Regions from separate parts of the Homo sapiens genome. Here all the other regions are linked to region 1. Evidence: promoter capture Hi-C in 16 types of primary human blood cells and fetal thymus (Javierre and others, 2016). All regions are on one chromosome and are shown on one strand. Each heading gives the region's core, a stretch centred on a gene start or on the middle of the fragment in contact. The rest is flanking DNA. Distances are from core to core; before and after follow the strand shown.

The links. Contacts are between HindIII fragments. The CHiCAGO score rates a contact against its expected background, and 5 or more counts as called.
Region 2: a fragment that was not itself captured here is called in contact with the fragment with the promoter of SOCS3 in region 1 in 7 of 17 cell types (activated CD4 T cells, naive B cells, total B cells and 4 more); the score reaches 8.3 in activated CD4 T cells.
Region 3: a fragment that was not itself captured here is called in contact with the fragment with the promoter of SOCS3 in region 1 in 1 of 17 cell types (monocytes); the score reaches 7.0 in monocytes.

What each region holds. Positions count from the first base shown.
Region 1 is chr17:78,358,464-78,361,326 of GRCh38, forward strand. It overlaps SOCS3 (suppressor of cytokine signaling 3), which reads right to left and starts at 1,614. Exons shown (of 2, transcript NM_003955.5): 1 at 1,287-1,614; 2 at 1-720. The coding sequence starts at 632. It overlaps SOCS3-DT (SOCS3 divergent transcript), which reads left to right and starts at 1,985. Exons shown (of 5, transcript NR_110847.1): 1 at 1,985-2,310. RefSeq lists silencers at 726-965, 1,376-1,655, 1,666-1,975, 2,036-2,235, 2,466-2,515 and an enhancer at 970-1,618. The HindIII fragment of the contact is 6,903 bases long and covers 1-2,863 here.
Region 2 is chr17:78,112,421-78,115,225 of GRCh38, forward strand. It overlaps TMC6 (transmembrane channel like 6), which reads right to left. Exons shown (of 20, transcript NM_001127198.5): 19 at 1,128-1,204; 20 at 1-791. The coding sequence ends at 728. Among named protein-coding and RNA genes, the nearest start is that of TMC6, 15 kb to the right of the region's middle. RefSeq lists an enhancer at 171-230. The HindIII fragment of the contact is 239 bases long and covers 1,170-1,408 here.
Region 3 is chr17:78,607,599-78,610,444 of GRCh38, forward strand. No RefSeq gene overlaps it. Among named protein-coding and RNA genes, the nearest start is that of SCAT1, 23 kb to the right of the region's middle. The HindIII fragment of the contact is 3,651 bases long and covers 1-2,846 here.

The DNA of each region.
Region 1 (2,863 bases), core at 364-2,863:
GGCAGCTGGGTGACTTTCTCATAGGAGTCCAGGTGGCCGTTGACGGTCTTCCGACAGAGATGCTGAAGAGTGGCCACGTTGGAGGAGAGGGGCCGGCTCAACACCAGGGGGATCTTCTCGCCCCCGGAGTAGATGTAATAGGCTCTTCTGGGGGGACTCCCAGGGAGTGGCTGGGCAGACGGCTGCTCGGGCACCTCGGAGGAGGGTTCAGTAGGTGGCGAGGGGAAGGAGGGGGCTCCAGGGGGCGGCATGTAGTGGTGCACCAGCTTGAGCACGCAGTCGAAGCGGGGCACGGGCTGCGTGCTCCGGGGATCGCTCTGCAGAGAGAAGCTGCCCCCCTCACACTGGATGCGCAGGTTCTTGGTCCCAGACTGGGTCTTGACGCTGAGCGTGAAGAAGTGGCGCTGGTCCGAGCTGTCGCGGATCAGAAAGGTGCCGGCGGGCTCGGCACTGAGCAGCAGGTTCGCCTCGCCGCCGGTCACTGCGCTCCAGTAGAAGCCGCTCTCCTGCAGCTTGCGCACTGCGTTCACCACCAGCTGGTACTCGCTCTTGGAGCTGAAGGTCTTGAGGCGCAGGCTGGTGTCCAGGGGGCGGCTCATCCCGGCGGCGGGAAACTTGCTGTGGGTGACCATGGCGCACGGAGCCAGCGTGGATCTGCGCGGCGGCGGCTGCAGCTGCTTCGCGGCCTCCGCACAGCGGCCGCTACCGCATCCCGGGGGGCTGCGGAGAGGAAGGCGCGAGCGCGTTGAGTGCCCGGAACCCTCCAGCGCGCCCGGCCCGCCCCGGCTCCCCTGCCTTCGCCGAGCGACTGGGGCACCCACTGCCCCGGGGGCCCTCTCCTGGGCCCGCGCTCCGATCCAGGCGCCTCACGGAGCCCGCACGGCTCCCGCCCCTGCCGGCAGGGTGGCCCCGGGCAGCCCCTTCCCAGGCGCGCACTGCAAGGGCGCAGCGTGGGAAACTCGCGCGCGGAAGTTAGGTCTCCAGGAGTGTGGCCGGGTGGGGAGCAGGAGAAGGGCCCCCGGGACTGCCTGGGCGCCGCTCAGTCCAGTAGCCCCGGGCGGTGTGGACGGAGGGAGAAACCCGAGGCACGGGGGTAGGGAGGGGACAGGAGAAGCCCGAAGGCCCCAGCCGGAGTATTCCGGGAACCTGGGATCTCCGGCTTCCATCCGCTCTGCCCCTACCTCGTCACCTCCCTGCCGGGAATGACCCGGGAAGGGGAGGGGAAACCGGGAAAAGCTCCCGGGACTGAGCGAGACCCCTCCCCACGCCGCGCTCCTCCTTCCTACCTGGTCCCGAATCGAAGTCTCCGTCCTTGGGGCTGAGCCCCCTCGGGTCCCCAAGGCGACGCGGCGGCGAGACGGCCAGCGGTGGCCCGCGCTGCGCCCAGATGTTGGCGGCCGTGAAGTCCACAAAGGAGCCTTCGCGCGCGCGTCCCTCGAGCTTCCCCTGGGCGCCCGCCCTGCCCCCTGCGCACCCCCGGACCAACCGGGAGGGGACCAGGAGAGGGACCGCGGCAAGGGGCCGCGGCGGGAGCTGGGCCGGGCGGGCGGCTGGCGGCTGGCTGCGTGCGGGGCCGAAGCGGCAGCAGCGGAGCAGGGAGTCCAAGTCGGAGCCGCCGCGGAGGCCGCGCTCGCGGGTATATAGGCGGCCGCCGCGCCCCGCCCCCCGATTCCTGGAACTGCGCGGCCGGCCTTCTTGTAATGTTTAGTCACTACTCGCAGCAGAGAAAGGCTGAGCGCGGAGGGTGAGGGAGGGGCCGCGGGCGCCGAGGGCGGGCCGCGAGCAGGGGCAGGGACCGGGAGGGACGCGCGCGGAGACAAAGCGCGACGAGAGGCGGCCGAGGCGGCCGGTGGGCGCGGCGCCAGCCCCGGCGGCGCGTTCCTGGCAGCGGCCCCTCCCCGCCGCGCGCTCCGCCCCCAACTTCTCATTCACACTTTCCCCCCACCCCCCTCCCTTCTAAGAAGGCTGATTTCTGGCAGAGGCGGGGGCGCCGCTTCGGGAGAGCGGGCAGTTCTAGGAGGCCGACCTGGAGAGCCTCCCGGTTCCCCTTCCCCTTTTCCCGGACCCCGCGGGGACACCCCCTCGCCGCCACCCGGGCCTCCCCGAGGGCCCAACTGCGGGTCAGGCGGCCCGGGCCAGCCGAAAGGGAAGTGGGGCTACCCCACAGCCAGGCAGCGGGGCTGGGGTCAGACCCGGGAGCCGGAGGTTGGAGACGTGCGACAGTCACCTGCGGGCAGATTCCAGAGGGGAGACCCAGGGCTGCAGGGGACGCCCCTTCGTGGCAGCTACCCAGCCTCGGCCCACTGCCAGGTTCTTTGCCAACCCTGACGCGAGTGTGGAGCCCCCCTCCCCTCCCCTATGAAAACGCTTTCATGCACTGGGGTCTGCAAACCTGGTTGGTCCGGTGTGGGTTGGGCCAGGTGCTCTCGGCCGGGCTGGAGAGCTCGAGGTGGAACGATGGCCCCAACCTACGGCCCGCGTCCGCCAGAGGGCGCCCTGGGGTCTCCTAGGGGAGGGCAGTTTGGTGCTGCGCGGCCCAGGCCTTGGAATAGGCACGCCAGGGATCTGCGGGAATGGCTGTCTCCGGAGCTGGAAAGGTGGCCGAGAAGGGGGCATTCACACCCCAGGCTGGGGTCAGACCTGGGAATAAAATTCTAGCAGGAGAGAATTTCCGGAAAGCAGTTTTCCGGGGTTCAGGCTACTGCCAGATGGCCCACACCCCCTGGAATGTGACCCCCTGCCTCTCTTGGGGTGGGGGAGGACTTGATCACTGGCGGGGAGGGGGTAGAGGGGAGGAGAGGAAGTGATTGAGGTGAAAGATTGGTTTGCTGCTGGTCACGTTGGCACTGACGTAGATAGTTTG
Region 2 (2,805 bases), core at 39-2,538, 250 kb before region 1:
GCCCAGTCAGACCCAGGATCACCACCCCCCAGCCAGCTGCTGGCAGCCAGAAGCAGGGGGCCAGCCCCACCTCACCAAGCCCTGTTCGCCTCCAAGCACAGGTGCTGGTTACCTATGCCTGGGAGGCAACTGTCCCCACAACTCATTTGCAACTGATATGTCTCCCCTCCAAGTCCCTCTCTAAATTTGTCTCCTGCTCCAGTAGATGCTACAGCATCACCCAATGGTTGACGCATCGCTCTGGTCACAATCCGTGCCTGCTCGGCTCACTTGTGCAGGTGTAAGCCCCTCCTGGGCGCGAGTTCAGGCTGGTCAAAGGCAGCAAGCGAATCAAGCCCTGGCGCGGTCCAGCCCCTGCCATCTGGGGCTTGGCCAGCAGAGGGCGCCCCCACTCCAGCTGAGGTTCCCAGGACCCAGACCTGCGCCTGGAGGTGGCCCCAGGGCAGCGGGAAGCAGGCCCCGGGTGTGGTCACAGACACAGAGCCCCAAGGGACAAGCCCATTTGCAAAACCCCTTTAATCAGAATAAATAGAGTCCCAGGCAGGGCAGAGTTCATTGGGGATGCCCAAGCCGGATTCACCCACCCTTCCAGCTCCAGCCTAGGCGCAGCTGCGGCTTTCGAGAGGCGAAACTGTCTTCCTTGTCCTGGTGTCCCAGCAGGGTCACTGGGAGGCAACAGTGTGGTCTCAGGGTGCTGGGCGGGCCCGTGAGGCCCATCGCCGTCCCCCTAGGCATCCTGTTCATCTGTGAGCAGGGCAGGGGGTGCCGCAGCCTCCTCGGTTGTCCCAACCCTGCCAGAAAGAGACATCACTGAGGGGACCCCATAAACATCAACATCCCTGCAACCTGGCTGGGCGCAGCCAAGGCCCGGCGAGGGACAGGCCAGACGCCCCACAGCCTTTCTCCTGAGATGTATTTTAGGTCCCTGTCAAAATGGCCAGGCTCCGGAGGCCAGAGAAGGCTCTAGAGAGAGTGAAGGTGGGCGCCGGGGGGGAGATTTTTGTAGGTCAAAAGCGGTCAAGTGTCAGCAATGTCGTGGTGTAGCCCCAGTGGCAGCCCTACTGTCCAGCCCTGGCCCCTCTCCCCTCCAGGCTCAGAGTGTCCCCAATCCCTCCACGGACCCTCACCTGCTCCTCTCCTCCCTCTCCTTCCTCTCGTAGATGGAGTGAAGCTTGTTGATTAAGAAGATTTTGTCCTCACCCTCCTAGAAAGGCCAGAACACAAAGGGGAGGAGAAATCATCCATCAGCCCATCCAGAGCCATCCTGTTCCAAACTGCATTTGAGGGAAAACTCACGAGGTGTATTCAACATCGCAAGCAGCAAAAACATAAAAGAAAAGGTGAAAGGGCCACCAAACAAGGACAAGGAAAAACCAAGAGCCAGGAAGTGGGCGTATGTGTGGATCTAAGCTTCCTAGTGGCCAAAGTGAAAAGGGAAATGTAATCAGCAGCCCAGAGCCAGCCTGACTCAATTTAAAACCAGCCCTGCCACGTACTGGCTCTGCCTTGGGTTACTAACTCTGTGACCTCAGTGGCAGCATCTGTAAAGGGGGATAATAACACAAGGCACAGGGTTTACATTAGTTTCCTGCTGCTGTCGTAACGAACTGTCATCAACTTCGTGGCTTAAAACACCACCGGTTTCTCAACTTTCAGTTCTGGAAGTGAGAAGTCCAAAATGAGTCTCACTGGGCTCCAGTCAAGCATGATCAGGGCTACATTCCTCCCGGAGGCTTCGGGGGAGAATCCTCTTCCTCGCCTTTTCCAACTTCTAGAGGCCCCTGGCTCTCAGCCCTTTCCTCCACTTCAAAGCCAGCAGTGGCTGCTCAAGTCCTGCTCACGTGGCACCACTCTGACCCTGACACTCCGGCCTCTGTTTTTCACCTCTAAGGACCCTGAGATCACGCTGGGCCACCACGATAATCTAGGGCCATCTCCTATCCAAAGTCAGCTGACTGGCAACTTTAATTCTACCTGCAATCGTAATTCCCCAGCCACGCAACGTAACGTATTCACAGGCTCCATCCAGTCTTAGGACGGGGACATCTTTGGGGCCAGTACTGGACTGACCCAGGGCTCTTTCGACAATGAAATGTGACAAGCAGAGGGGGCACTTAGCAAAGGATCTGGTGCACCGAAACACTGATCATCAGTGCCTGGGTCAGACCGGGATTCCCCGCCCGGAGCTTCACACAGAGAACAGGAGTTCTGTCAAGAGCCACACGGATTGGCTCTGGGCACCTGGCAACCTGGCTCAGCCTAGGAGGACCACTTAGAATACCTTCAAGGAGAGACCATGGGCCCCTTAAGCAACAACCTAAGTAGCTTCTATCGAGTTGCTGATGAGTATGGAGGGGCTGTGCACTTGAGCCATGCCGACCTGCACGGGGAAAACTCAGACCGACAGCCCCAAAGACGGGTCAGAGCTCGGCCTTGGGTAGACACCACAGCCAGCATCCGCCTGGAGAAAGGTCCTTCCCATCCCAGAGCAACGGTGGGTAGAGCTGGGATTCTCCCAGCACCACTCTGCATTCCCCGCCCGGACCCACCTGGCCCTACCTGGCCCCTGGGGGCTCTGAAATGCCACCCAGTAGGGCAGGAGCCATTCCCCACTTCCAATATCTACAGCCAGACAACCACCGCAGCCGAGATGCCAGGCTTTCAGCTCTATGTGGTGAAACGGGAAAGGCAGGAGATGGGACAGTGTGTACTACAGTGTTTACAACCCAAGCAATGTGGGAGCCGTCCCATGAGTGCTTGGGACGAGCTGGGACGAGCTGCCTGGAGCCCTGGATCCTGGCACCA
Region 3 (2,846 bases), core at 306-2,805, 250 kb after region 1:
AAAAATGTGGCCGGGCGGGGTGGCTCATGTCTGTCATCCCAGCACTTTGGGAGGTCGAGATGGGTGGATCACTTGAGGTCAGGAGTTCCAGACCAGCCTGGCCAATATGGTGAAACCCTGTCTCCACTAAAAATACAAAAATTAGTCAGTTGTCATGGCAGGCACCTGTAATCCCAGCTACTCGGGAGGCTGAGGCAGGAGAATCACTTGAACCTGGGAGGCAGAGTTTGCAGTGAGCTAGATCATGTCACTGCACTCTAGCCTAGGGGACAGAGCAAGACCCTGTCTCAAAAAAAAAAAAAGTATTCATTGATAAGGACAACTGTGAATTCCTTTCAATAGATGGGTTTACTTCATTTGTTTTCATCCCTGATGGCAACACCCCCATCCAACAGGAAAAAAGAAACCAACTCATCATTGGCATCCCTCTTCTCTGCTTTAGTTTTTCCTTAGGATGCACCGCCCTCTAAAGTATTGTTTAATTTACTTATTTATTATGTTAATTTATTGTCTGTATCCCTCATTAAAAGCAAAGTTCCAGATACTTTTCAAAAGAAGACGTACGTGTGGCCAACAAGCATATGAAAAAAAGCTCAACATCACTGATCATTAGAGAGAAACGCAAATCAAAACCACAACGAGGTACCATCTCACACCAGTCAGAATGGCTGTTATTGAAAAGTCAAAAAACAACAGGTGCTGGTGAGGTTGTGGAGAAAGGGGAACACTTATACCCTGTTGGTGGGAATGTAAATGAGTTCAGTCATTATGGAAAGCCGCATGGCAATTCCTCGAAGAGCTAAAAACAGAACTACCATTCAACCTAGCAATCCCGTTACTGGGTATATATCCAAAGGAATATACATTGTTCTACCGTAAAGACACATACACGCATATGTCCATTGCAGCACTATTCACAATAGCAAAGACATGGAATCAACCACAGTGCTCATCAGTGGTAGACTGGATAAAGAACATGTGTTACATATACACTATGGAATACTATGCAGCCATAAAAAAGAATGAGATCATGTTCCTTGCAGAAACATGGGTGGAGCTGGAGGCCATTATCCTTAGCAAACTAACTCAGGAACAGAAAAGCAAACGCTGCACATTTTCACTTATAAGTGGGAGCTAAATGAGGGCACATGGACACAAAGAGGGGGACAACAGACACTGCAGCCTACTTGAAGGTGGTGGGTGGAAGGAGAGAGTGGCTTAGAAAAAGTAACTATTGGGTACTAGGTTTAGTTCCATGGGCTACAACAGCGCTCAGCATACAGTGCTCAGGAAATACTCATGGAACCCCTCAGTTAATCATCCAGGGTGCCTGGCCTGTGCTCCAGGGACAGTCCGGGAACTGACTGTTCTGGGCCTCGTTGAGTGTGGAAATTGAGAGCGAGCGGGTAGAAACGCTGACAGCCACTTCACTTTGCCATGTTGTCTAAGTGCTTCATCATTTTTCTGGTAGTTCATCTTTATCGTGGTTTACAAAAGTGTGGGTCCCACGATGGACTGGAAATTAAAACAAAATAAAAATGTGTCCTTACCAGATAGTTAGAGAAGTACCAGGCCAGCAAACAAAAAAAAAGTCGAAAGAACTGGGACACAGGAAAACTACGCTTCTAAGATTTCCAAGCCAAGAACATTGGAGAGTGCAGATGCTGTGTGTGGCCAGGCAGCGTTCAGCCACAAAGAAACCCCAGGCAGAAGGGCCAGGGGGGATGGGGGCCAAGGCCTTCTTGGAATCTGCCCCATCCTCATGCCCCTGCACGCACTTGCCTGGGGGAATGCGGACAGTCACCAAACTGTGTCCCCGGGAAGGGTGCCTGCCACACCACCCCCTGCCCTTTGTGAACGGGGCATCTCTCTACCACTGGCCAAAGCTGCTGGCTTCAGATGGAATTTTTTTCTTCTATGGGGAAACCTCAGCCAGCAGCTTCAGCTCGTGCCCAGGAGTTCCAGGCTGCTCTTCCTGATGGCCAGGCCCATGAATTCTGATGTGTCTAGCCAGCTCCTACAGCCACAGAAGCCAGTTTCCTGCAATAAATCCACATATATATATCCTATGTCTCCTGCTGGTTCTGTTTCTCTGGTTAAATCTTGACAGATACAGATTGTGTTAGTAACGTGGGCCAATTTTTGACATGGTCAGACTACCAGAAACCCATCGAAATCTCAAACTTCTGTTTATCCAAATACAGCTGCCAACAGAACTCTCACAGAGTGGCATAAGAAGCTCCATTTCCTATTTTCTGAATCCTTGGCGGTTGAGCATAGTCCTCTGTGTGTACCCAGAACATGTCTTCTGCTGGTCCTCGGCAGCCGACAGCCAAAGATAGGTCCAGAGCCTGGCGAAGTTGATGCCAGTAACAGCATCCGGGCCTGCGTGTGGGCTGGGGACCCTGCAAAGGACCAGAACCTACGTCTCGGCATCTTTGTGAAAAGGGATGCCAAGACACAAGAAAAAAGGAAAGAGCAACACGGCAAAACCCATCTCTATTAAAAATACAAAAAATTAGCCAGGCATGGTGGCGGGCACCTATAGTCCCAGCTACTTGGGAAGTTGAGGCAGGGGAACCCCTTGAACCTGGGAGGTGGAGGCTGCAGTGAGCCAAGATCGCACCATTGCACCCCAGCCTGGGCCACAGAGCGAGACTCAGGTCTGAAAAAAAAAGGAAAGGGAATTCATGGCCTTTCTCTTCCTCTTAAGACAAATGCCCTTTTCTTCACATTAACAATGAAGAGACCAACGTGGCAAGCTGGAGAGAAGACGCAACACATCCCAGCACCAGCCGGGCCATGCAGGAAAGCCTGGGACAGGACCACGGCCATCAACTCAGCTC